Regions from separate parts of the Homo sapiens genome. Here all the other regions are linked to region 2. Evidence: promoter capture Hi-C in human tissues and cell types (Jung and others, 2019). All regions are on one chromosome and are shown on one strand. The core of a region is centred on a gene start or on the middle of the fragment in contact, and the rest is flanking DNA. Distances in the headings are between cores, read along the strand shown. Region 1 overlaps SOBP (sine oculis binding protein homolog). Region 2 holds the start of BEND3 (BEN domain containing 3). Region 3 overlaps SOBP (sine oculis binding protein homolog). Region 4 overlaps SOBP (sine oculis binding protein homolog). Region 5 overlaps PDSS2 (decaprenyl diphosphate synthase subunit 2). Region 6 overlaps SOBP (sine oculis binding protein homolog).

What was found. Contacts are between HindIII fragments. The study calls those that stand out against the background at their distance.
Region 1: a contact is called between a fragment that was not itself captured here and the fragment with the promoter of BEND3 in region 2, in 1 of the 25 tissues and cell types used here (dorsolateral prefrontal cortex).
Region 3: a fragment that was not itself captured here is called in contact with the fragment with the promoter of BEND3 in region 2 in 1 of the 25 tissues and cell types used here (dorsolateral prefrontal cortex).
Region 4: a fragment that was not itself captured here is called in contact with the fragment with the promoter of BEND3 in region 2 in 1 of the 25 tissues and cell types used here (aorta).
Region 5: a fragment that was not itself captured here is called in contact with the fragment with the promoter of BEND3 in region 2 in 1 of the 25 tissues and cell types used here (small bowel).
Region 6: a fragment that was not itself captured here is called in contact with the fragment with the promoter of BEND3 in region 2 in 2 of the 25 tissues and cell types used here (mesendoderm cells and thymus).

What each region holds. Positions count from the first base shown.
Region 1 is chr6:107,582,508-107,586,801 of GRCh38, reverse strand. The region is part of intron 4 of SOBP (sine oculis binding protein homolog); the gene reads right to left. Among named protein-coding and RNA genes, the nearest start is that of SOBP, 95 kb to the right of the region's middle. RefSeq lists an enhancer at 259-1,151. The HindIII fragment of the contact is 4,254 bases long and covers 1-4,179 here.
Region 2 is chr6:107,114,050-107,118,045 of GRCh38, reverse strand. BEND3 (BEN domain containing 3) reads left to right here and starts at 2,531. Exons shown (of 4, transcript NM_001367314.1): 1 at 2,531-2,956. RefSeq lists enhancers at 516-1,281, 1,282-2,045 and silencers at 2,638-2,687, 2,728-2,777, 2,908-3,817. The HindIII fragment of the contact is 9,723 bases long and covers 1-3,996 here.
Region 3 is chr6:107,546,648-107,550,740 of GRCh38, reverse strand. All of the region lies in intron 4 of SOBP (sine oculis binding protein homolog), which reads right to left. Among named protein-coding and RNA genes, the nearest start is that of SOBP, 59 kb to the right of the region's middle. The HindIII fragment of the contact is 4,925 bases long and covers 354-4,093 here.
Region 4 is chr6:107,528,830-107,532,811 of GRCh38, reverse strand. All of the region lies in intron 3 of SOBP (sine oculis binding protein homolog), which reads right to left. Among named protein-coding and RNA genes, the nearest start is that of SOBP, 41 kb to the right of the region's middle. The HindIII fragment of the contact is 3,696 bases long and covers 418-3,982 here.
Region 5 is chr6:107,400,616-107,404,630 of GRCh38, reverse strand. The region is part of intron 1 of PDSS2 (decaprenyl diphosphate synthase subunit 2); the gene reads left to right. Among named protein-coding and RNA genes, the nearest start is that of PDSS2, 57 kb to the left of the region's middle. The HindIII fragment of the contact is 5,895 bases long and covers 1-4,015 here.
Region 6 is chr6:107,615,258-107,619,717 of GRCh38, reverse strand. All of the region lies in intron 5 of SOBP (sine oculis binding protein homolog), which reads right to left. Among named protein-coding and RNA genes, the nearest start is that of SOBP, 130 kb to the right of the region's middle. The HindIII fragment of the contact is 4,763 bases long and covers 370-4,460 here.

The DNA of each region.
Region 1 (4,294 bases), core at 803-3,302, 470 kb before region 2:
ACCTTAGTTTTTCAGTGCGCATTGTTCATTGCACATTTAGGATTATATGACATACATACGTGTTTAAACTTTTTGGCATGCTTAAGCAATCTCTAGATAATGCACTTTTAAAAAATTCTAATAGCAAGGCCATAAGAAAAGCAATCTGCATAATTATATTTTGCATTGTAATACTATTAGAGATAAACTGATTCCCCTCCATTTTTAAATAAAGATCTAAAAGGAGCGATGATCTGGTAAGAACCATGATTCTTCAATCAAATGCAGTAAAAAAAAAAAAAAAGATTTAATTTAAAAGCTGCATTAAAAGTTACTGGTTATTTTGATCTACGCTGTTAATTAAGAAAGCTGAAGTTTAAATGGAGACATTAACAGAACCCATTAGCAATACCGCTTGCATACAGTCTTCTTTCTAATCTCCACTGGTTTCTGGTTTGGAGTGGGAGAGAAGGGAGAGGTAGGTGAAAGGGGGCGTGTCTGCAGCACACTCATTAAACCATTCATTTGCGTGACACTTGCACTCCGCTCTGCTCTCATCTCATCTTAGCCCTAACTGCTCTCTCTTTCCTGGCCTCCTGAAATTCACAGCTGAGCTGTCTCCCTCACATATGGCTTGCATATAATTATGCATATTCCATTTTACACTGCATTAAAATGATGAGCTCCTGGCTCCCTGCCAGCTGATTTTTAAAAGCCCTAGTGAAGTAGGAAAAAGGAGAGAAACACAGGGAGAGCCGCACAGGAAGCAGCAGGTAGTTCTGTCTGCTGTCTCTTTAGATAAAATGTATGTCTGGCACCAAGGGAACAGCTGAGAACTACCTGTTGTTATGTATGGATTGAGGGGGGAGAAAACAATGAGCATACACTGTGGCAGAGATGACAATGCTTATGTATTGTTCCTCCTTTAATGGAGCAAAATCTGCCCTGATGAGTGTCACTCAGAGCTCCCTGGCTATACTGGGGCTTGTCATTTTAGAAAGAGATCCATATTTTGTACATTTTAGAATGTATTGCTTGTGTTTAAGAAAGCTTCTGCTACCTAGTCCAGGGAGGGAACTAGATGGAACTTGGAAGTGCAATGTCATGGTCAGTAATATTTAGGTTACAAGAAGTTTGTGGGGAAAAGAGATTGCTCTCTTTTGGTTCACTTTTGAGATTTATAACATCCCTCATGCTTGGTGCCTTTTTATTGTACCTTTTTTTCCTACTAAATCAGACTAAAATAAAAATGCAGTTATAGGATTGGCTATATGCGACAGAGAAAAAAGTTTAATTGTTGTTCATGTCCAGTGGCTACAAGGCACTGAGACCAATGATGTTTCTTCTTACTGCATCGGAACAACTTTGCAGCTACGCCATGGTTTAAATTAATATAGCTCAAATGGGTCACATTTTAAATCCCAACTGGCAAAGGCAGCAGTGGCATAGATAAATGAAAGGCAGTTGTAAGAAAGTAGGAAGATGCCATTGGGCAGTGACAATATTAGATTCTTCATAACAAAATGTTAAGCCACTCTATGAGGTACAGGTCTCTTAAAGGCAGGGACCACATCAATTTCATCTTTCTTGTTCTGCCATGCCCAGTGCCTTACTTTTAGTTGATATTTAACAAACATTTAAGTGATGATGGAAAAAACCCATACGTGGATAGTAAGTAGACCCTACCATAAACAACTCTGTAGAAAATGCCACCTCAAAATATGCTAAACTTGGTAGTAGCTTTATTATATTCCTGATGCACTATGATATATATGCTTGGAAACACACTTTGCATATAATTTTCAAGGGCTACTATTTACATATGTATGTCTATATTCAATATATATGTATCTTGTATATAAATATTCATAAGGTGGAATGTGTTTATTATGCATATACTATGTATACACATTCATACACACCAGATGCCTAAGGATATTTTCAACATTAGTGGCAAAAATACATTCATTCCACTTACATGTAAGGTGCACACAATGTTTTTTTTGTGTTTAAAGGACAAAAAAAAAATCCCATTATCTAATATTTGAATATGCTTCCTCAAAGGGGCTACAGACTTCATATAAAGCTGCATAATTTATGAGGTTAAATAAAGTAGCAGTGGAAGAGAAAGGAGAGGGGGATTGAAGAGATTCGGAAGTGGAGACAGAAAGCTAGAAACTTGCTTTTTTATTGAACCATTATGTTCACCTCTGCATCAAACTTCCATGGCTCTGGGAATGGCCTGTCCTCTAACACCCACCCTGACTCCAGAGTCCAAGAAATTCTATCCTTCAGCCATTTGCTGTGTTTCCACTACATGCCACAGAAATGAAAAGCATGCAAAGTACAAGAAGTTCTTGAACCATCACCTTCACGTGTATTTGTGTGCACAAATAACTCACACACACTTCTCACCACTGTAATCCCCTTTGCATTGTGAAATTTTTAATGTGTAATTTTAAATTACTATGACAGGAATAAGTGTAATTCAGTGCATTCATCTAACACAGGAATTCGCTACCCCAGCTGCATATTAGAATCATCTGGGGTGTTTTTTTTTTTTTTTTTTAACATATTGGTGTCTGACCCCCTCCCTTTCTAAGATTGTGCTTTAACTGGGGCCTGGACACAGGTGGTTTTTAGAAAGCTCTCAGGTGATTGTAATGTACCAAAGAAGGGCGAGAACTGCCGATCTAAGGAGAGTGCCTACAGCTATCAAGGGGAGGCCCTTGGCATAGCTGCCAGAATGTTCTCTAACCAGGTCCCAGGCCCACTGGAGTGAACCATTGTGCTATGAGAGGGGGATATACAGGTTGAGCAACCCAGATTCAAAAATCTGAAATCCCACATGCCCCAAAATACAAAACTTTTTGAATCCCAACATGATGCTCAAAGTAAATGTTCATTGGAGCATTTCATGTTTTGAATTTTCAGATTTAGCATGCTCGACCAGTAAGTATATACAACGCAAATATTCCAAAATCCCAAACACTTCTGGTCCCAAGCATTTTGGATAAGGAACACTCAACCTCTAGGATGTAGTCCCTATGGTAGACCTTACCCTAAATATTCAAAAAGCCTGGGCAACACAGGGAGACCCCATCTCTACCAAAACAAAACAAAACAAAAACTAGCCAGGTGTGGTGGCATGCACCTGTAGTCCTAGCTACTTGGGAGGCTGAGGCAGGAGGATTGCTTGAGCCCAGCACTTCGAGGTTATGTTGAGCTATGATCGCGCCACCACACTCCAGCATGGGCAACAGAGCAAGACTCTGTCTCAAAAAAAGAAAAAAGATTTAAGAGATTACAGAACTAGTTGCTTGTGGGCAAAAATTATCATTATTTGTTTGTTTGTTTCTTAGTTTCTGGTATGACCAATAATCTTGGAAGAACTACCATACCACTTCCTTAAAAAGGCCTTCCCAAACCTCTCTATCCAAGGCAAATATCTCCTCTGTGGTCCTTCTTAGACTCAACATGGTTGCAACCTTGGAATTACTGGTGTGATTTTTGTCTCCCCTAGTAGCCTACAAGCTTCCTAAGGGCAAGGACAGAGTCTGATCTCCCACCACTGTATCTTCAGCCCAGCCACTGCCTGATGCCCAGTAAGTGATCTGTAAGAATGAGTTGGATCATTCACAGAACTGGTGGCAATGTTAGACAACATCCATAGGACCTTCCTTACCCTAGAGAATCAGTTCATAATGTTTTACAACCTCTTATATATTAAAGTCAGAGGTTTATTCTACATCTGCCCCCACTTGGGTGGGGTGCCAGACAATGGCTTAACAAGGAGGGTGGACATAGGACACCAACGACCCCTTCAGGGAGGAATATGTGAACACTAAAATTGTTCAGAATCACTGGCTCATGGTAACAACATAAAGCAGACCAACTTTTAGCTGGTTTTATTATTGTTCTTAAATCCTCTGCAGACAATGCATTCTCTAATTGCCTCTTGAGAGTGGACCACCCCACTGTCGGCTCTAGATATCCACTGGGGCCAGAAGAATTGTGTTCACGTCTGACTTTTTTCCAGAGTGACAAGTTCTGAAAGAAGGCACATCAAGGCACTTCATGATGAACTAACTCTCTCCTTGTGTGTTATTTTCAACAGTTTTATTCTGACTAGTGTGCTAGATATTTATGCCAACTACAGGGAAAAGCAAATGGGAGACTATTTTTTTGCATTTTACTACAAATGTGATTGTCAGAACAAAGGTGCATTTTTGACCTATTATTCTAAGGAAATTTCTTTTTTTTTTTTTTGCCATAACAGAAACAAAAATCCTTCAGTTAAACTGCAAGCGGATTT
Region 2 (3,996 bases), core at 1,282-3,781:
ATCCCAATCTTCTTTTATATCCCATTTTATATAACGCAATTTTCCATTTGAGTTTTTACATTTAGTGTCTCAGTGTTTTATATGGTCAAGTAGCCAGTTTTCCCCCTGCTACATTTTACTCAGGTACAAATGAAAATGAGTTGACTAGATCGATGGCAGCAGCTCTAATTTGAAATCTTGAAAAATGCATTTTTTATTAAGCAATTTCAAATTGAGCAGACCTCTAAAAACCAGGTTGTTATTTTTCCGGGTCTTTACACACACATCCGTATGAACCATGAACTGTTACTGCACTTTCAAAACTATTATGTCTTGAAGTTTCCAAAATTATATACAACTATTCCAATACATTTTTCACCTTTATGCGTTATTTTCCTTCTCCATATAAAAAAGAAAACCACATAGAAAACCATTTGAAGGAAGGTGATTTCCTTTCTTGGATAGCAATGACTTCTATTTCTATTAATAACTTATTTGAAACAAGCCACTTACTTTGTTAAGTAGATAGATCCATTTATGCAAATATAAGATACATACTTTTACAATAATATTCAAGGTCCGTTTGAGTTTCCTGAAAGTTGTTTTGAAAAGTCAGCTATATCAGTTCAATTATTGTATTTGACAGAAATCTTTTGTTTCAAGCAATATGAACAGAGAAATGTTAATTTCTATCTCTATTGTCTTATTATTTAATTTCTCCTTAAAAACCTGAGTTGTCACTGTGAAAGATTGGTTAAATATATATCCCCTCACTACACACGTTTCATCTAGTCCTCTTTCCAAAAATTTAACAAGGTCGTTTTACATTCTTAAAGCACCACAGCAAAGTGATTTAAATGCAAAATGTGCTTAAGTGCTACTTAACTATTCCTAACTCTTCTACTGGGAAATCCTAGAAAACTGAACTAATGAAATGCAACTTCTACTTTAAAAATTCTAATTATAACTGTCACATTAAATTGAAGGTGAGAATAAAACTGGTGTATCTGTTAACTAAGTCAAGCGATGTACTGTGTCGTACGTGTTATTTAATGTGCAAGTGTAAAAGTCAAGTTCTCTGCAGAAATCGAAGTGCCTCCCCTCAGTCTTCTGCGAATGTATAAATTAACCATTCTCCCCCAAGCAGTCCTCCTCCCTTCCTCCCTCCGCCCTATTTTAAATGTAGATAGGGCGACCTAAGTCTTTTGAATTTGAAGGGCTGCTATCTCGGCCCCATTCTTTTCATCATCCTGTTTTCAATGACACTGAGCACGTATAGATTCTTCTATAAAAGCACCCCCTGGATGCAGGGCTTGGTTCTTCAGGCTGCTTGCTTAATTTTGCATAGCAATTAGTACTGACTTCACTAAACCAGTAATCCAAATACAGCTCGAGAATGTTCCACGTAGTTCCTCAAACTTAACCCTGTGCCTTTTGATTTCAAGCCCGAAGGGGGGGAACTTGCATAATTACTAAATTCCCAATTGGAGTGGTCTGAAGGAGGGTACGGTAAACCCAAACTATACGTTAATTCAAACCCTCGCCGCGACTGGGCAGCAAGGAGCCAACATATGCCTTCTTTTAAAAATCTATTCTACCTATTCACTGACCGCGCAGGGCCGTGCCACATGGTCCTCCCTTGCAGCCAGTCAGCTGTGAGCAGCAGATGGGATCATTTGCATTTTTCTTTTTATACTTTCTTTGATCGGCAAATTAAAGGATTTTTCTTAAATTTACATTCTCATTGTTTGCCTAAAATACAAACGTGGCTAAACTGTTGAATTGGGCTTCCCTGACTCTCACCCAGCACCTCCCCCTCCCCCTACCCAGCCACTGAGACTTGAGAAAATACCCGAGGGGTAGATTTCGTATTTATCAACTGGGAATCTACAGTCCAAGAGTTAGGAGTAGACAGAATCAGCCTTTATTGAGTTGGTGACTCGTGTTTTTCTATTTTAGGCGCTCGGCGCAGACAGCCCGTGGGTTTGTGTTTGTGGGGTGTGTGTCTGTGAGCGCGGGCGCTTCCGAAGCTCTCGCTCCGCAGCCTCACACCCCAGAACTTCGGGTTGCAAGAGCAGATTTTAGCTCTGAGGCTCACAACAGAGGGCGGCCACCGTGCAGGGGGAGTGGCCAGAGCCAGCTTTTCCCAGCGCCAGGGTCGCTCTCCCGGGTCCCGCCGGACTCCATGCCGCCCCGCGGGGCCGCAGGAGCCACCCGGGCCCTCGCGCCCCAAGGTCTTTGTGCCGGTGGCGGCGCGGGAAGACCGGCCCCGGGGGCCTGGGCTGCGGCCCAAAGGCCAAAAATGCGGGAGAGGCGTGGGCGCGAGGCGGGACAAGCTCCGCACAGTCGCCGTCCCGCAAGGGGCAAAAAAGTAGAAAAAGCCGTTTGGGGCCAAACTCTCGGGTCTGAGAAACCACGTTTCCGAGGACGAACTCGCGGTGGGAGGACACATGGGGTACAGGGGACATTGTTCGCGGCGCCTGCCCGGCGCGCCGTGGGTGCGCGGCCGCCGCCCCCGCCCCGGGCAGCCAGCGCGGGCCCACGTGGAGCCACTGCGCTGGCCGAGCGCGCCGGGCCGCCTGGGTCCCGGGAGTGCGCGCCCGAGCTCCCCGCCGCGGCCGTTCACGCCCGAGCGCCGCCGCCGCCGGTCCCGCGTGTGCCCCGCTGAGGGGGAGGGGCGGGCCGGGGGTGGGGGCGGAGGGGTTGTGGTTCCACTGCAGCGGGGGCTCCTGTGTCCTTGTGCGGAAATGACACACGGAGTCCCGTCACGTCACGCGAGAGCGCAGCGCACGGACACACACAAAGAGAGGGGAAAATACACGGCGCTCGCCCGCCCGCCGCCCCCAGCGCCTCCCCGGGCCGCCCTGGCCAGGCCCTCCGCGCGCGGCCCCCACTCCCCGGCCCCGCGCCCTCCCCCCCACGTGGCGCCCAAACTCGGCGCGGGCCCGCCCGGCAAAGTACAGAACTCGCGTCCCAGGTAAGTGCGGGGCGGATCAAGCCGGCCGCGCGGCGGCGGCAGCGTTGGCGGCTCCGGGGCGAGCGGCCGGTAGAGTGGCTGCAACATCCATGCCGGGGTGGGGGCGGGAGCAGGGGAGGGGACGCGGAGGGGGGCTGCTCCGAGCGCGCCCGCCGGTAGTAGCGCCCACCCCCGCGCGGGCCGAGCGACCGGAGCGGGCGCCGGGCGCCCACGGGCTCGCCGCGCCCATTGTGCTGCGCGCCCCTTTGTGCCCGCTCGGAACGCGGCGGCTCCATGGCGTTCTGGGGAGCACGCGCGCCGCGCGGGGGCGGGGGGTTCGCGCGGTGGAACCGTCCGCGCCGCCGCCGCCGCCCGCCCCACTCGCGCCGCGCGCCGGCCCCGCACCCCCGCCGGGCGCCGCGATGGAGCGGCCGGGGCGGCCGGAAGGCTCTGCCGTACTCGCGGCGGCTTGGCGCTCGCGCTCGGCGGGGCTTTGGCGGGGCACTGCTCGGCGTGTGGAAGGGGGTGTCGGAGCGGGAGCAGGGGGCGGGGACTGGAGGGAGATGCCGGGCGGCGAGCGGGAGGCCGGGGGAGCAGCCGCTCGGAGGAACGAAGCCTCCGGAGGCTGCAAATGGAGCGAGGCCGGCCCGCGGCGGCGGCGGCCGGGAGCGGAGAGGGATGGGCCCCGCCGCCAGGGGGCGCAGCGCTCCCTTCCCGGCCGTTCCACGGCGGTTCGCGGTTCCCGCTGCCCAGGAGCTGGAGGCGGGCCCGGCGCCTTGGGTGTGCACCCGGGCTGGCGCGAGGCCTGGCCGGCCGGCCGCAAAGCTGAAGCCTGGGGCGCTCGCCGCTCCTCGTGAGCGCTCCTTTCCTTCTCTATGATAAACGTGATTTCCCACGCATGCTTTGCCCTTGCCTCATCCGTGAGCTGTGCACCACCGATTTGGAGGCCCTTGTGTGCTTGTTTACCTACGTCTCCCTATGTAGCTATTTTAAACAAGGTGTTTTTACAGAGATAAAAGTTTTATTGATTGCTCAGGTGGTCTTTCTGGAAGAATTCTGCA
Region 3 (4,093 bases), core at 1,567-4,066, 430 kb before region 2:
GAGCCTCACCGTCCTTTTTTCTATCCATCCCATTTCCTGAATCTATATTTTGGTCTCTAAATTAGCATGTGCTCACTCATGCATAGAGCCTGGCCTCTGGGCTGGGTAAGTCACCCTGTGGTGCCCGGGTTCTTCTTACCCGCATCAGTTCCAGCATGCCTCACATCATGTCATTTGTTTACTGGTTGCTCTCCCCATTCAACTGTGAGAGCCTCAGAGGCAAGGACCTCTCTTTATTTATCTTTGTATCCCCAGCCACAGAACAATGCCCTTCATACTGCGGATGCTCAATATTGCTTGTTGAATAAATGCGTAAGTGGATAAATGTGTGGCGTGAAGTCAACTTCCACACAAGCACAGGACAATTCACACGCTCAAACAGACACTCTTCTGAGCAGAAACCACGTCTCAGATGTCTAATTTCCACGGCACCCAGCCCTGAGACAAGTTCCATCCTCTGAGGACCTCACTGAGTTGCAGATTCATGTGCTTGTTTTACAGACACCAGTCTGTACCCAAATATGCATTCTTATGCTTCTCTCTGGCCTTTCACTACCCACACTATTCCAGTATCCTGGTCCAAGCCGAGTGTGGGTCAACTGTTCCTGTTAGCAGCTGCCCTGCAAGGGGGCTGAGTGACAGAAAGGATTATTTCAGCTTTAGGACTCAAGACCAAAATGGAAGCTGCCAACTTCCTTCCTGTCCCCACTGGCCTTCCAGGTGTGGAGAGGAGGGACCCCATGGGTGCCAGGCTTCCCAGGAATGAGTAAGGCCCATCTCTCCATGTCTCCTCCCATGCACAGCTGGGTTAGAGTAACATGACCATACCTTACCAGGCCCCTGGACATCCCTGGAGAGTGCAGGTGATAGGGGTTAACTATCACGGTTGTTTTGACATAGGTTTTCTCCAGTACATCACCCCATCTCCCTACACACATAGGGAGAAAGAAATTGAGGTCTATATCACCTTTACTTGCCCCTGATCAAATATTTAGCCAAATATCTAGGCCATGGAACATCAAACATCTCCTTATCCAGAGCTGAATTATATGATCATAAAAAATTAAAAATTAACTGATACTTACTAAGTACTAAATGACTACATTAGAAATGTAAAAAAAAAATGAGCAAAAGGGCTTGAATGAGGAGGGGAGCTGTACTTCTGGGGGAAAGGAAATATAAAGTTCTAACTCCATTTACTCTGGGGCACTTTAACTTTCTTCTTTCATCGCATTTAATGCAAAATGACACCCTAAATGAAACCCCATAAGGCATCTAGGGTTTTTTTTTTCCTGAGTTTCTATTTAATTCTGGTTATTTTGATTTAAGCTTCTATAATCAATTTGTGCTTCAATAATACAAATAACTTCCATGAGCTCCACCCCAGTATAGGGCTTGGGAGTATGCCTCTTTATAATTAATTCTCTGGATTTATCTGTTTTTTTTTGTTGTTGTTGTTTGTTTGTTTGTTTTTGAGATGAAGTCTCGCTCTGTTGCCCAGATTGGAGTGCTGTGGTGCGATCTTGGCTCCCTGCAAGCTCCGCCTCCCGGGTTCATGCCATTCTCCTGCCTCAGCTTCCCGAGTAGCTGGGACTACAGGCACCTGCCATCATGCCCAGCTAATTTTTTTGTATTTTTAGTAGAGACAGGGTTTAACCATGTTAGCCAGATGGTCTCGATCTCCTGAACTCATGATCTGCCCGCCTCGGCCCCCCAAAGTGCTGGGATTACAGGCTTGAGCCACTGCGCCCGGCCGGTTTATCTGTTTTTAATTCAATTTATTTATTTATTTATTTATTTTTTAGAAATAAGGTCTTGCTCTGTCACCCAGGCTGGAGTGCAGTAGCACAATCACAGCTCACTGCAACCTCAAACTCCTGGCTCAAACAATTCTCCTACCTCAGCCTCCCTAGCAGCTGAGACTACAGGTGTTCACCATCACACCTGGGTGATTTTTTTTATATTTTGTAGAAACAGAGTCTTGCTATGTTGTCCAGGCTGGTCACGAACTCCTGGCCTCAAGTGATCCTCCCACCTCAGCCTCCCAAAGTGCTGGTGTTACAGATGTGAGCCTCTGCACCCAGCCCTTAATTCACTATTTAAGTCAACTTTGATTGTGCTGAAATTTGGGAGGTCAATATTCTTTTCTACTTATTAAACAATTCATGATAAAGAACGTTGAAAATTATATTATAGGTTGGCTGGGCGCGGTGGCTCACGCCTGTAATCCCAGCACTTTGGGAGGCCAAGGCGGGCGCATCACGAGGTCAGGAGATGGAGACCATCCTGGCTAACACAATGAAACCCTGTCTCTACTAAAAATACAAAAAATTAGCCAGGCATGGTGGCGGGCGCCTGTAGTCCCAGCTGCTCGGGAGGCTGAGGCAGGAACCCAGGAGGTGGAACTTGCAGTGAGCCAAGATCACGCCACTGCACTCCAGCGTGGGCAACAGAGCAAGACTCTGTCTCAAAAAAAAAAAAACAAAAAGAAAACAGAAAAAGAAAATTATATTATTGGTACATGGTTTTCTCTGGTGCCAGTAGGCCATGAGATTGGGGATTCCTTTTGTTGTTGTTGGTAAGCAGTATTGACTTGATGTCAGATTTGAAGTTCTATTAGATTTACAGCAGTGGTGTCTGCTCCTTTACATTTGATTCACAAATCCCTCATACTCAATGAACTCTCAATGGTACCACTTTAACTAGAAGTAAAAAGTCATCAAACTAAATCATGGGACTGGGTTGTAAGTCTACCTTCTCTCCCTTCCATTCACCTGCAGTAGTCTAAATCACTCCTTCCCTGAAGCATGCCTTATCAGCTGTGCAGTGCAATAGAAGGGGGAAAATGTTTTCCCAACCCAGAAACCCATCAACTTGGACCCCGAAGCATGACATCTGAACACTTAACTGCAAGACCAGGAACAGCTCACAACTACTATCCATGATCATTAACAACCTGCTTGCATTTCCAGGGCTGCCTCCGTGGATTAATGTATGTACTATGTATTAAACCATCTGCCATGGAGTCTGACCTAGTCTTTCCCCATTGTGGCCAACTGCAAAGGTTACCCCTGAGTGTTAAGAGGCTGAGTACATTTTGATTACATTTACATTTACCAATTCTTTAGTTTTATTATTAGTTCTTTTGTCCTCAACAATATACCTTTTCAGGCTTTTGTATCCCATATTTGTATAGCCTGCAGTATAATAAAAACACATTTAATCCTCTGTGTCAACTCTTTTAAAGTTCAGCGTTAGCCTTTTATAAAAATCAGGTTCAAGAAGAATGAACTACACATTTCCTGTGAGAAGGGACATAGCTTGATTATCAGCATATTGTTTGACGTACTTTTGTCTGCTTTTAAAAATTGTCTTTAATGCAGTCAAACATTTAAACGTTAATTTTTTTACTCTAGGCAGGTAACACAATGAGCCCCCTACAGATGGGACCAAGTTCTCCTCTCTGGGGATGCTGAGAGTCAGCCCATATCAGGGACGTGAGGATTAAAACGTTTTGTTCCCTTGTGCTCGCTGATGGCTGAGTGAATGGAATTGCATCTGATGTCAGGTTACCTCATTATATGTATATATTTGTAAGGGTTTCTTTTTGGGCGGAGGGTAATTCTCTGTGGTTTTTCAAATGAAAGCAACTAAGAGAAAGTAGTGAATGCTACCTCCTTCCTGTCATCTACTGCCAAATAAGCCATCAGTATTACCAAGTGACACTACTCCTAATATAAACCCCTGGGATGGTACACTATTAATTTCTCTACCCTGAGGAATATCATCCACTCCTTCCCCAGGTTCTTAATCCAAGGCTGGGCTTTATTCCTTGTCTTCAGTTGTTTATGTTCCTCAAGGGTCTCTTCAGGAGGAGTCAGCCAAACTCTAAATGAATTACTTGGATTTTTGAAAATCCAAACAACTTACCTTACTTTTTTGCAAGGCTATATTTGGTCATTTTTATTTAGGTTTGTATCAAATGCTAACTCAAGACATAAATACTGTTTTTTGTTTGTTTGTTTTGTTTTTCTCAAAGGAGCCTCCTCAAATAGTGACCCTGCAAACTTTGTACTGTTCTGTCATTCCTTAG
Region 4 (3,982 bases), core at 1,016-3,515, 420 kb before region 2:
TGTCCTAAGGGAGATGCAGGCCTGATTGAAATTCTCCTCCATGTGATGTGGTTCCTGGGCCCTGGATGGAGGGATGGTAATGGGAATGCCAGATCATTCTCAGCCAGATTGGTGGTCCTCCCAGCCCCTCATGTCATGTCATGGGGTTGCTCAGAATGAATTTAGGTGGTTTGCAAATATTTCCATTATTTAAATTGTATTTCTTTTCCTTTGTATGAGAAGAAAACAAATTTAACTAGCATAATGAGCCCATGATATCACAAATACTACTGCTTAAAACAAAGGATTTTAAAGTGAGTCAATTAGTAAAATATATTCAGTAAGTCATAGTGCAGGTGGTCAGAAGTTATGACAAACATTATGATGGTGATATTCAGGTCTGGGAAAAACTGGCCTCTGAGGGGTGGGTGGGGGTGAATAAAAGGAAACTTTAAGTAGACACCTAAGTAATATTTCCTTGTTGCCTCTTAACGGCTTTTGCTACATCTTGAGTTTTCTCTGTCCTCCCAATTGATAGTGACTGTGTGTGTGTGTGTGTGGTGTGTGTGTGTGTGTGTGTGTGTGTGTGTGAGAGAGAGAGAGACTGATTGCCACATCTCTTCTTCCTTTATGGAATTTTTTTTTTATTAACCCACATTCATGCTCCAGACATGAATGGTAATCATAAAATCCCCAACAAGCACTCGTATAGTGTTGTCTGATTTCTGGATAAAATCCCCCAAAGACTAATTGCTAAGCAAGGCCTGGTCCACGAGTTGTTGACATATTCAGGGTTCATAGAGTTTGTCATGCAATCATTTCATTTCCAGGGAAAAGATTTGGTTTGAGGCAGTGTGGTCATCAGCCTGCAAAATTAGAAGCAAACTAATTTGTAGTGCAGAGATATGGCTTTTTTCCCCCTGAGTATCACCACTCAGAACTATATGCAGCATTTTATTTACCTCAATGGAATAAATATTGCCATTTTAATGACCTTTTAGTATTTCACAAATTACATATTGTGATCTATTGTTATCAAGTGAGATAGTATAAAAAATGACCTTTGATGTCAGTCCAACATTTTTGATAACTTTCTTTAAATGGTATAATATGAAATCAAATGTCAAACAATTACTGTATTTAATAATTTGTTCTATTCAAAGCAAGCTTTTTGATATTTCAGGAATATCCTTAACAAAAAAAATTTAAAAATAAATAAATAAAAGCAAGCTTTTATTTATATTTTACATGATCTCTAATATGGCATCTCTCTACATATGAACATTTTACATGGTATGAAAAATTAGCAAAGCTTTATAATTTACCTTGGTGTATGGAGCAGTTTTCTTAGATTAGAAATAGCATATATTTTAAAATATTCACCTATCTTTACTAAACTAGATAGCAACTAATAGTTTCTATTTTTCCCAATTGATAAGATACTTTAAAATCTTAAATTCCTGAAAAAGAAGATACAGCAGAATTCTCATAAATTATCCACTGGCAGTAAGCTTGATTCTGGTGAAATCTGTAAGGAAAAAAATTTATGCGGGAAATCACCTGGCCTCACAGTTTAATGAGGAGACCCCACTTCCCAAGGAGCCATTTTAGAACATGCATTAGGTCCCCCTCATTATTTCTTCCTTTAAATAATCTGATTTGGGAAACAAAGCATAAAACTGTTTAAGTCCTAGATCTTCAGCTATAATGGACCAACACTGAGATGAGAAAGAATAGAGTGCAAAGCTATTCACAAGGCCAGGCGCTTAGCTTGCAGCTTGGACCTGGCCTGAAGGAATGATGCTTGAGGCCAAAGGGCAGCTCCGGGGTCTTTCTCAAGCTTCAATCCATCATCACCAGACAGACCCACTTGTCATTTTTTAAAGGGAGGCAAGAATACTTTCTTACAAAGGACCTAACAAATAAACGAACAAAAAGGTAGAATTTTAAAACAGATTATTTCTTATAAATCATTCTTACTACAAAGCAACAATATGACATGAGACCAAATACATTGTGCACTTTTATATCTGGCTGCTGGAAAAACTTCTAGAATGATGGTTAGCATCTGCCTTGTTAAATAAGTCAACGCTCCCCGCAGTTTTTCATACAACTCCATTTCATAAAGGTATATGCTTTGGGAAAAGCCCATCAGATTTCTCCTTTTCTAGTATTAAACTGTTATCAGCAGCTAATGATCCAAAGAACAGTCTGATAATTGGGTTATTCAAAAAATTTAAAAAACATTTTCCGGTATTTCAGGCATTCTAGATTTATAAAAGTCTTTTATATTAGTAACAGATTTTAGAAACTAATAAAGAACTGTGATTATCTAAATTAATATTGTCAGCCAAACTATAGTTCAAAATTCTGTCATCAGACATGAGATGGTGTCCCCATCTTATGACTGCACCCCTAGAAAAGTGAACACTTCTTAAGTGGTTAAAGTCAAAAGGATCAGTCCACTTCAACCCTGCATCTCTTTCTACCTGAAACACGGAAATGAAATGCATGCTTTACAATAAACATGGAAATGAAATGCATGCTTTACAATGGCAAAATAGAAGGTTTCAGCACTTTAACTTTTCTAACTTGATCTGCTTTAAATTTTTTTTTCTACTTAAAAAAATATTTCTTCAAGCTAGGGAAAACCTAATTACCTGTCTTACATTTTGGCTAACGGTCTGTGCCATTAGAGACTTGAGATTACCTCAGAGAAGATTCACATAACAGATTTTTACATGACATTACCTTACAGCCATCAGCCTGTGCATTTTTATAATAAACAATACAACAAATGTAAAATGTTTACAGCATTAAATCACATTCCCAAAGAGAACGGTTTGTATAACATAATTTTCATATGATAATATCATATAAATATGTATCAGTCAAAATAAGCATATTTCAATTAATCATGAAAAATTTGTACCGAATTTAATTAAGCAGAATGTTTAAGGCATTTTCTTTCCAATCTAATGTTCCAAGAGCTATAGAACATTTTTCTACTTTACATCCCAGAAGTTCAGATTACTCCAAGATGAAATCAAAATTGTATTTATTATAGTGCAGAGAAGTATGAGATCAAGCATTTCTGGAATGCCCTGCTGAAGTTGTTTGAGAAATTGCCTTATCTGGTGACTTTTAAAAATAAGGATGGCCATTGGTCAGTGATCTTCTTGGGGCATTTAAATTGGCTATAAACATGTATACTAACTTACCTGACCAGTGCCCAAAGAAAATCAGTAGGGCATTAATGGACTCCAGGCAATTAAACTGTAGATTTACCACCCCTTTGTAACTTTCATGGGAGTCCAAGACTGAGGGGAAATTCCGAAAGTATTTGCTGGGACATCTATCTCCTCCAACAGTTCCTAGAATGCACACATCCAGATAATCAATGAAAGACCTGGATTATATTTGAGACAAGTTACAAGGCAGTCTGAGGAGACTCCTGTGTGTTCCCCATGCCATGAAATGACATGAAATGGCCCATGGCCGGGCTGCACTGTGTCAATCTACTTGTTGCAGCAGCTATATTTAAAAACAGAATAAAGTCAAGGCCTGGAAAGCAGGCAAGAAACTGAAGTTTGCTTTCTTTATAACTTCTGCAAAAAAGAAATTCCTTTTTGAAATAATTCAATTCCAAACACTTTAAAGCAATCTAACTTAAAGTTTCTACAGAGTCCACCAGGAGTTTCTGTACAATTCCCTGTGTTCTAGGAGTGAACATACAAGGAGACCCAGAGAAAACTGGGACCACTAAACCACAAAGAACATAATGATAGCAGTACTTCGCAGGTGCCCGCACAATGCACGGCTCATTTCAATGTTATTTAATCTTTTTCACAACCACCACCAACCAGGCAGTTACTAACATTAATCTCCATTGTGCAAATGGGGAAAGTGAGTTTATATGTTAAGTAATTTGCTCCTAATCACACAATAAGTACATATCAGAGCCTTACTGAGGACCAGGCCATCTGATTCCAGAGCCCAAGCT
Region 5 (4,015 bases), core at 1,318-3,817, 290 kb before region 2:
GGCAGTTCCCCTGTACGTGCTGTCTTGCCTGCTGCTATGTAAGACGTGCCTTTACTCCTTGTTCGCTTTCTGCCGTGATTGTGAGTCCTTCCCAGCCATGTGGAACTGTGAGTCTGTTAAACCTCATTTTTCTTTATAAATTATCCAGTCTCAGATATGTCTTTATTAGCAGTGGGAGAACGGACTAATACAGTGAATTGGTACTGGGTAGAAGGAGGGGCTGCTGTAAAGATACCCAAAAATATGGAAACAACTTTAGAACTGGGTAACAGGCAGAGACTGGAAGAGCTTGGAGGGCCCAGAAGAAGACAGGAAGTTGTGGGAAATTTTGGAACTTCCTAGAGACTTGTCAAATAGCTTTGACCAAAATGCTGATAGTGCTATGGACAGTAAAGTCCACTCTGAGATGGTCTCAGATGGAGATGAGGAACTTGTTGGGAACTGGACCGAAGGTGACTCTTGTTGTGCTTTAGCAAAGAGACTGGTGTCATTTTGCCCTGCCCTAGAGATGTATGGAACTTTGAACTTGAGAGAGATGATTTAGGGTATCTGGTGGAAGAAATTTCTAAGCAGCAAAGCATTCAAGAGGAAGCAGAGCATAAAAGTTTGAAAAAATTGCAGCCTGATGATGCTGTAGAAAAGAAAATCCCATGTTCTGGGGAGAAATTCAAGCCCATAGCAGAAATTTGGATAAGTAATGAGAAGCCAAATGCTAATTGCCAAAACAATGGGGAAAATGGCTCCAGGACATATCAGAGACCTTCTGGAGAGCCCCTCCCATCACAGTCCCATGGCCTAGGAGGGAAAAATGGTTTCTTGAGCCTGGTCCAGGGCTCCCCTGCTGTGTGCAGCTGCTGGACTTGGTGGAAATGGTGCCCTGCATCCCAGCCGCTCCAGCCATGGCTAAAAGGGGCCAAGATACAGCTCAGGCTGTGGCTTCAGAGGGTGCAGGCCGCAAGTCTTGGCAGCTTCCATGTGGTGTTGGTCCTGTGGGTGTGCAGAAAACAAGAATTGAGGTTGGGGAATCTCTGCCTAGATTTTGGAGGATGTATGGAAACACCTGGATGTCCAGGAAGAAATTTGCTGCAGAAGAAGGGAAATGTGGGGTCAGAGCCACCACCCAAAGTCCCCACTGGGGCACTGCCTAATGGAGCTGTGAGAAGAGGGTCACCATCCTCTAGACACCAGAATGGTAGATCCATTGACAACTTGAACCATGTGCCTGGAAAAGCTGCAGACACTCAGCGCCAGCCATGAAAGCAGCTGGGAGGGAGGCTGTCCTCTGCAAAGCCACAGGGGCTGAGTTGCCCAAGACGGTGGGAGCCTACCTCTTATATCAGCGTGACCTGGATGTGAGACATGGAGTCAAAGGAGGTCATTTTGGAACTTTAAGGTTTAATGACTGCCTTGTTGGATTTCGGACTTGCATGGGGCCTGTAGCTCCTTTGTTTTGGCCAACTTCTCCCATTTGGAACAGGAGTATTTACCCAATGCCTGTACTCCCATTGTGTCTAGGAAGTAACCAACTTGCTTTTGACTTTATAGGCTCCTAGGCGGAAGGGACTTGCCTTGTCTCGGATGAAACTTTGGACTTCGACTTTTGGTTTAATGCTGTAATGAGCTAAGTCTTTGGGGGACTGTTGGAAAGGCATGATTGTGTTTTTAAATATGAGGACATGAGATTTGGGAGGAGCCAGGGGTGGAATGATATGGTTTGGCTATGTCTCTACCCAAATCTCATCTTGAACTGTAGTTCCCATAATCCCCAAATGTGGGAGGGACCTGGTGGGGAGATAATTGAATCATGGGGACAGTTACCTTCATGCTATTCTCGTGATAGTGAGTGAGTTCTAGTTCTAGTTTATAGTTCTAGTTCTAGTTTATAGTTCTATAAACTGCTTTTTATAAAACCATCTAGATCTGATGGTTTTATAAAGGGCAATTCCCCTGTACATGTTGTTTGTCTGCTGCCATGTAAGACATGCCTTTGCTTTCTGCCATGATTGTGAGGCCTCTCTAGCCATGTGGAACTGTGAATCCATTAAACCTCATATATATACACATGTATATATATTTTTATATATATATATATATATAAAATGTATGTATATATGTGTGTGTATATATATGTATACATATATACGTATATATGTATACATATATATACGTATATATATGTGTGTGTGTGTGTGTATATATATATTACCCAGTCTCTGGTATATCTTTATTGTGAGAACAGACTAATACACTATGATTTATACGTTTGATTGTTTTATATAGTCCCATACTTGTTGAAGGCTTTGTCCATTCTTTTTTGTTTTTTTTGTTTGTTTGTTGGTTTGTTTTTTTTTTGAGACTGAGTCTTGCTCTGTCACCAGGCTGGAGTGTAATGGCGCAATCTCGGCTCACTGCAACCTCTGCCTCCTGAGTTTAAGCAATTCCCCTGCCTCAGCCTCCTGAGTAGCTGGGATTATGGGCACCCACCACCACAGCTGGCTAATTTTTTGTATTTTTAGTAGAGATGGGGTTTCATCATGTTGACCAGACTGGTCTCGAACTCCTGACCTCAGGAAGTCTGCCCACCTCTGCCTCCCAAAGTGCTAGGATTACAGGTGTGAGCCACTGCGCCCGGCCTAATTTTTGTATTTTTAATAGAGACAGGGTTTCACCATGTTGGCCAGGATGGCCTCAAGCTCCTGACCTCGTGATTTGCCTGCCTTGGCCTCCCAAAGTGCTTGAATTACAGGCATGAGCCACTGTGCTCAGCTGTTCATTCCTTTTTTTTTTAATTGTTGTCTGACTGGGTTAGTTCAAAAGGCCTGTCTGCAAGTTTTGAAATTCTTTCACCTGCTTAGTCTATTCTGTTGTTGAAGCTTTCAACTGTATTTTGTAACTCCTTGAACAAGTTTTTCATTTCTAGAAGTTGTGTTTCTTGTTCATATCCTGAGTTGATTTTCTGATTTCTTTGTATTGGTTTTCAGATTTCTCTTTTATCTTGTTGAGCTTCTTTAAAATCAGTATTTTTAATTTTTTACCTGGCATTTCAAAGATTTCTTTTTCGTTAGGATCCATTGCTAGAGATGTACTGTGCTCCTTTGAGGATCTCATAGCACCTTGTTTTTTCATACTTTCAGTGTTATGCTGATTCCTTCACATCTGGGGTAACAGTCGCTTCTTTTTATTTTTGAATTACTTTTGTTGGAGTAGGACTTTTTTTTCTTTTGAGGGTGTGTCTATGATGATGTTTAGTAGGGTTGTCTAGTTTTGCTTTTGGGTGCATTCACTGGTATAGACACTGTATAATTTCCTTGGTTATAAAAAGCCTTAATGCAGCAGCTTTCTCAAATGCCAGTTGTAGTAGTAATGTACCAGTAGGGAGAGTAGGCTCAAGGTCTCCTGAGTAGCCGGGCTTGTGTGGGTAATGGTAATAGTAAAGGTTGCACAAAGCTTGTGTCCTTCCTGAGTACTGTACAGTTGTATCAGCAGATACTGTAATGGGCTTTGCATGTTGACCTCCTGGCCAGTAATTGATACTTACAGGTGAGAGCCTGCTGTGATGGTTGCAGTAGTGTTTATACTTGACCTTTGTTAACCAGGAGAAGTACTTGGATGTCCCATGCAACGGGCTGGGCTATGGATTAGTTGTAAAGACTTGTCTTCAGGTTCTGAAGTTCAGCGCATTATAGTATCTGCTGACACAATTGCACAGTGCTCGGGAAGGAGACAAAGTTTGTGCAACCTCTGCAATTACCATAACCTATGGTCTGTCTCTAAGGCAGTTGGGGCAGGGCAGAGCTGGGTAGAGCTGGGCCAGGCAAGTCTGTGCTCAGGCCCTCCAATGGCAGGTGCAAACACCAGCCCTGATAAGGGTCAGAAGGCTGTTTTCAAGCCCCTGGAGCAACACTCCAGGGAGCAGTAGGACAACCACTGCCATGCTAGAGAGCCAGTATGGGGAAAAAGGGACTGCTTGAGCTCCACAGCTTAGCACGTGGTAGTGGGACCTGCATTGCTCCCA
Region 6 (4,460 bases), core at 1,502-4,001, 500 kb before region 2:
TATAGAAGCCTGCATACACCTGCACTACTATTTCTGAGGGTCTCCATAGAAAGGAAATATGAATACTCTCTCAGGTTCTTGTCTATTCCTAAACCCATTCCAACTGCCCCCCACCCCACCGACCCTACCACTGACCAATATGCCCCAACTCTCTATTTCCTAAAGTATATGCTGAGAAACACTAGATCCACCAATAAATGCTCTGTCCCCCAAAAAGGATCCCATGGCCCAATAAGCTTGGGAAATGTTGCATATTCTATGCTCTTCTTTGGAGGTTCTCAGTGCAGGCTGCCATGCCTGAGCCTCTGAGGAGATCTGCAGAAAAGAAACATACTTAAACTTCATTCATCCAGAGTTTCCCCAGCTTTTCAAAAACAGAACTCTTTTATTTTTAAAGTAGGCTTCTATAGGAAAACACTTTGAAAAATGCTACCTTAATCACTTGGATGCATAAGATGGGGCCAGGAAACCTAAGCCTTATCATGTTTTCTTTAATTAAAGCTTTCTTTTGTGGTACTGGGCCTGGATCTCATGGCACCTTTACACCCCAGAACCCCATCCTGCACATGATAAGGGTTCAGGATGCAATTACCAGTTGTAACTGAACTGCAGGAGAAGGTGAAGGTGATTCCTACACATGGGCCCCTCCGCATGTTAACAGGCTCTGTCCAGAAATCAACGTTACTCGTCCCCTTGTGGCACTTTTCTCAGCCTCAGTGCTCCCCCGCCCCTGCTCACCTCTAATCAGCTTCCTGTGCTCACTGAGGCCTAGACCCTATTACATTTCACCTTGTGGTTTCAGCTTCTGCAGTCACTACAAACTCAATTTCTGTCCTCTCAGTTCTAGTTACCCTACGCAGCCCACAAGCCCGACAGGATGTCATGAATACCAGTACCTATGGCGTGACCTTCCAAACCCCGAGGCTTCACCCAAGAGCATTTTAGGTCACACAGCTGCATTTTCTGCATGACAGATGAATTCCTGAGCATTACATGAGAAAGGGGCCACAACTGAGCAGCCTCTTCACGTGCACTTAAACCAAACAACAACAAATGGCATATCGCTATTTTTTGTATTTATACACAAAGGACTGTCCTTAACTGTCATGCTAAATAAAAACATAAAATCAAGAAAACTACTTCAAACAGCCTTGCTGGCACACTGATTTTGAACTAAATCCCATTGGTCTATGGATGAGGGTTTATTCTAGTCATGTTGATCATTTTATCTCTTCCTTTGGCCATTCTCTGCCACAGGCCTCTGCGCAAATTCAGCCTTATCCAGAGTAAGTGACACATATGTCCTAAAGGGCCAAAGAACTATGGTCTCAAGAGGAGAATGGGTGATCAGCTACCCCTAGACTAAGTAAACTCTTCTAACCAGACAAATACTTCATGGCCTAATAAACCCAAAGGAACTATGAATGCCCTTAATACTATGATTTCTGGAAGGTCACCTAACTTTCCTGAATTGTACCAGTTAGAAGTTATGCAAATTCTTCTCTATTGTCCTGTTCACACTGTACAGTCATTTACCCATTAATTTGACTAAAAAGGGCTGCAACAATTATGTAATAAGAAGGCATACGGGCCGCGCACGGTGGCTCACACCTGTAATCCCAGTATTTTAAGAGGCTGAGGCGGGCGCATCACCTGAGGTCAGGAGTTCAAGACCAGCCTGGCCTATATGGTGAAACCCCATCTCTACTATAAATACAAAAAATTAGCTTGGCTTGGTGGCGGGTGCCTGTAGTCCCAGCTACTTGGGAGGCTGAGGCAAGAGAACTGCTTGAACCCAGGAGGTAGATGTTGCAGTGAGCTGAGATCGTGCCACTGCACTCCAGCCTGTGCGACAGAGAGACTCCGTCTCAGAAAAAAAAAAAAAAAAAAAAAAAAAGGAGTCATACAACAACCCAAGCTGCCCACATCTGTGTTGCCAGGCACTTTAAGAGAGAGCATGGGCTTGGCCCTGGGATGATCAAATCAAGCTGTGGGGTGGGCAGGCTCCCCAGCTAATTGAGCTTCTTTGCTGAACACCAGTGAGATGTGAGAGATGAGTTTGGATTGGAATTCCATTATGGGTTTTCAATAATTAAACATTACATGTTTGGAACCTCATTCTTCTGTATTACTTTTTAAATATTAATCTATTTACATCAGCTGGACTTCCTGCAGCTTGATACGCAGTAAACGGGAGTCACACTGAGAAAGACAACTGTGTTCTTAGCTTAAGACATCTTTGATGATCACCAACAGTAAAGGCGACACAAACCCTCTGTTCAACCCAACCCTGTATAATAATTACCCTGCCTTTTAGAGGGTGGCTGGTTCCACTTTTTTCAGCACACTCACACATTCCTCATGACTACACTGACTTTCCAAATTAGCAAGAATCCAAATTAATCTTATCTCGAGAGTTTTATAATGCCCCTTAAGACCACTGGGGCACGCTGCCCTCTTTAGAAGCGGGGTTAGAAAATGGATGTGGAAGGTATGTGAGGGTTTCCTTGGAGATAACCCCACACTGCAGTGACACTCCAGCATAAAATTCAAAAGCCAGCGCACACATCAAAACCTCATTAAGGGATCACCTGTTTTATACCATGCCTGCATGCTGTTAGGACTTTAGGTGTGCGGGTGAACCCTGCTGCTCTGAAGCCTTCCCTGCCTCCTCCCATTTCATCATGCCTGGCAGACGCTCGAGCAGCAGCCCAGCAACTGCCCGGGAGCCCCTGTCTGCTGCCTGTTCATCCTCTCTCACCACAAACACACGGCACCCTGAGGACACAGAGGCCCTCCCCATGCCTGGATGCAAATGGCACTGCCCAAGAAGACAGCCTGAGGCCAGACTTCAATGGAATAGGGATTCTAGGCCAGGCAAGACAGCCAAGGGCTGTCTAAATCAAAGGACTGGGCCAACCGTCGCTGTGAGTGTCCGCTGCTTCGGAGATTACAGCCCCCACTGTTTCTGCAGTCAAAGTAATCATCAGACCCGAATCCACGCTCGGCCCCTCGCAGAGAGCGCCATAGAACCCTCTCCGATTTGCTTTCAATTTAAGAATTTTATTCCCTTTTAAGACAAAGCGAGCAGTGCAGACCAGCCATATTACAAGGCTATTTTAAAGAGCAAAACACCATTTAACTTAATACAAAAAGATGTAAGATTCAAAGTGGAAAATTACAAGGGAGCTACCCCAGTAATAGAAAAGTCCCCAGCTGTCTACCCTTGTGACCAGAGAGGAAGCTAGATGTACTGAAAGTCCCAAGAAAATCTTCCCAGATTTTAGTATCTTGTTCTATTGTTTTACTTTTCAGTGCTATCAATGGCATATGCAAAATACCTGAATGCAAATGTCTGTTCTTAGTCTCAGAAGGGAGCCTGGGTCCGTGCATACCATCCAGGCAATGCATGGTGCCATCAGGGCTGGTCCAGGAAAGCTAAAGTCCTAAAGCTGTGACTGGTGGTCCCAGGATGCTAAGTGTCTCCTTCCCCATGGGAGAGGTGGCTGTACTAGACTTTGCAAAGGACAAGTAGATCCCAAGAGTGCACAGGAAAGGCTCCAGAGGGAAAGAAAAGCTCCTGATTTATTAGAGACTCCACAATGGCTGAAGCCGCCCCCCCGCCCCCCCCCCACCCCCCTTCCTCAATGAGTAGGCATCCTTTTTTTTTCTTTTTTTTTTCTTTTTTTTGCCCAGAGACAGAGTCTCGCCCTGTCACCCCAGGCTGGAGTGCAGTGGTATGATCCTAGCTCGCTGCAGCCTTGATCTCCTGGGCTCAAGTGATGCTCCAACCCCAGCCTCTTGAGTAGCTGGGACTACAGGTATACACCACCATGCCTGGATAATTTATAAATTTTTTTTTAGAGACAAGGTCTCACTCTGTTGCCCAGGCTGGTCTCTAACTAGTCATCTTCTTTTAACCCAGAGTTTCAAAATCCTTTCCCGTCCATAACTGGAATTGATTAAATTTTGCCTCCTCTTCCTGCTCTCCAGAGGCAGAACTAACAAGCAGAAATCAGCCTGCCCAACCTCAGGGCAGGTAGGAACTCTCCCCAGATTCTCACAATCAGATTTTTCCCTTGGGGAACACACCATCCTTTGAATAATTCCTGGTCTGAACAAAAAACCAAGCACATTCTATAGGTAGACAGAAGTAATTCAGAAGGGGACTGCCCACTGAGCTTTTCACATTTACAAGACAGACTAGGGGCAGGTGAGGGACAAAGTGAAGCCCTCTCATTTTGCCCCATACCCAAAGGCTGTCGTTTCCTCAAGATTATCTCAGCCTTTGTCCCTCTGATTTCCAAGTGACTTGGAAAACAGAGTAATAATCCCTAGAAAATACCTAAAAGCTTAATAAATCTATTGCTTGGAAGTACCCCACTAATATTCAGTCTAAATCTTTCTTTCCTTAATTTTATTTCATTACTCCTACCCTAATTATACCCCTTGTTCTGAGC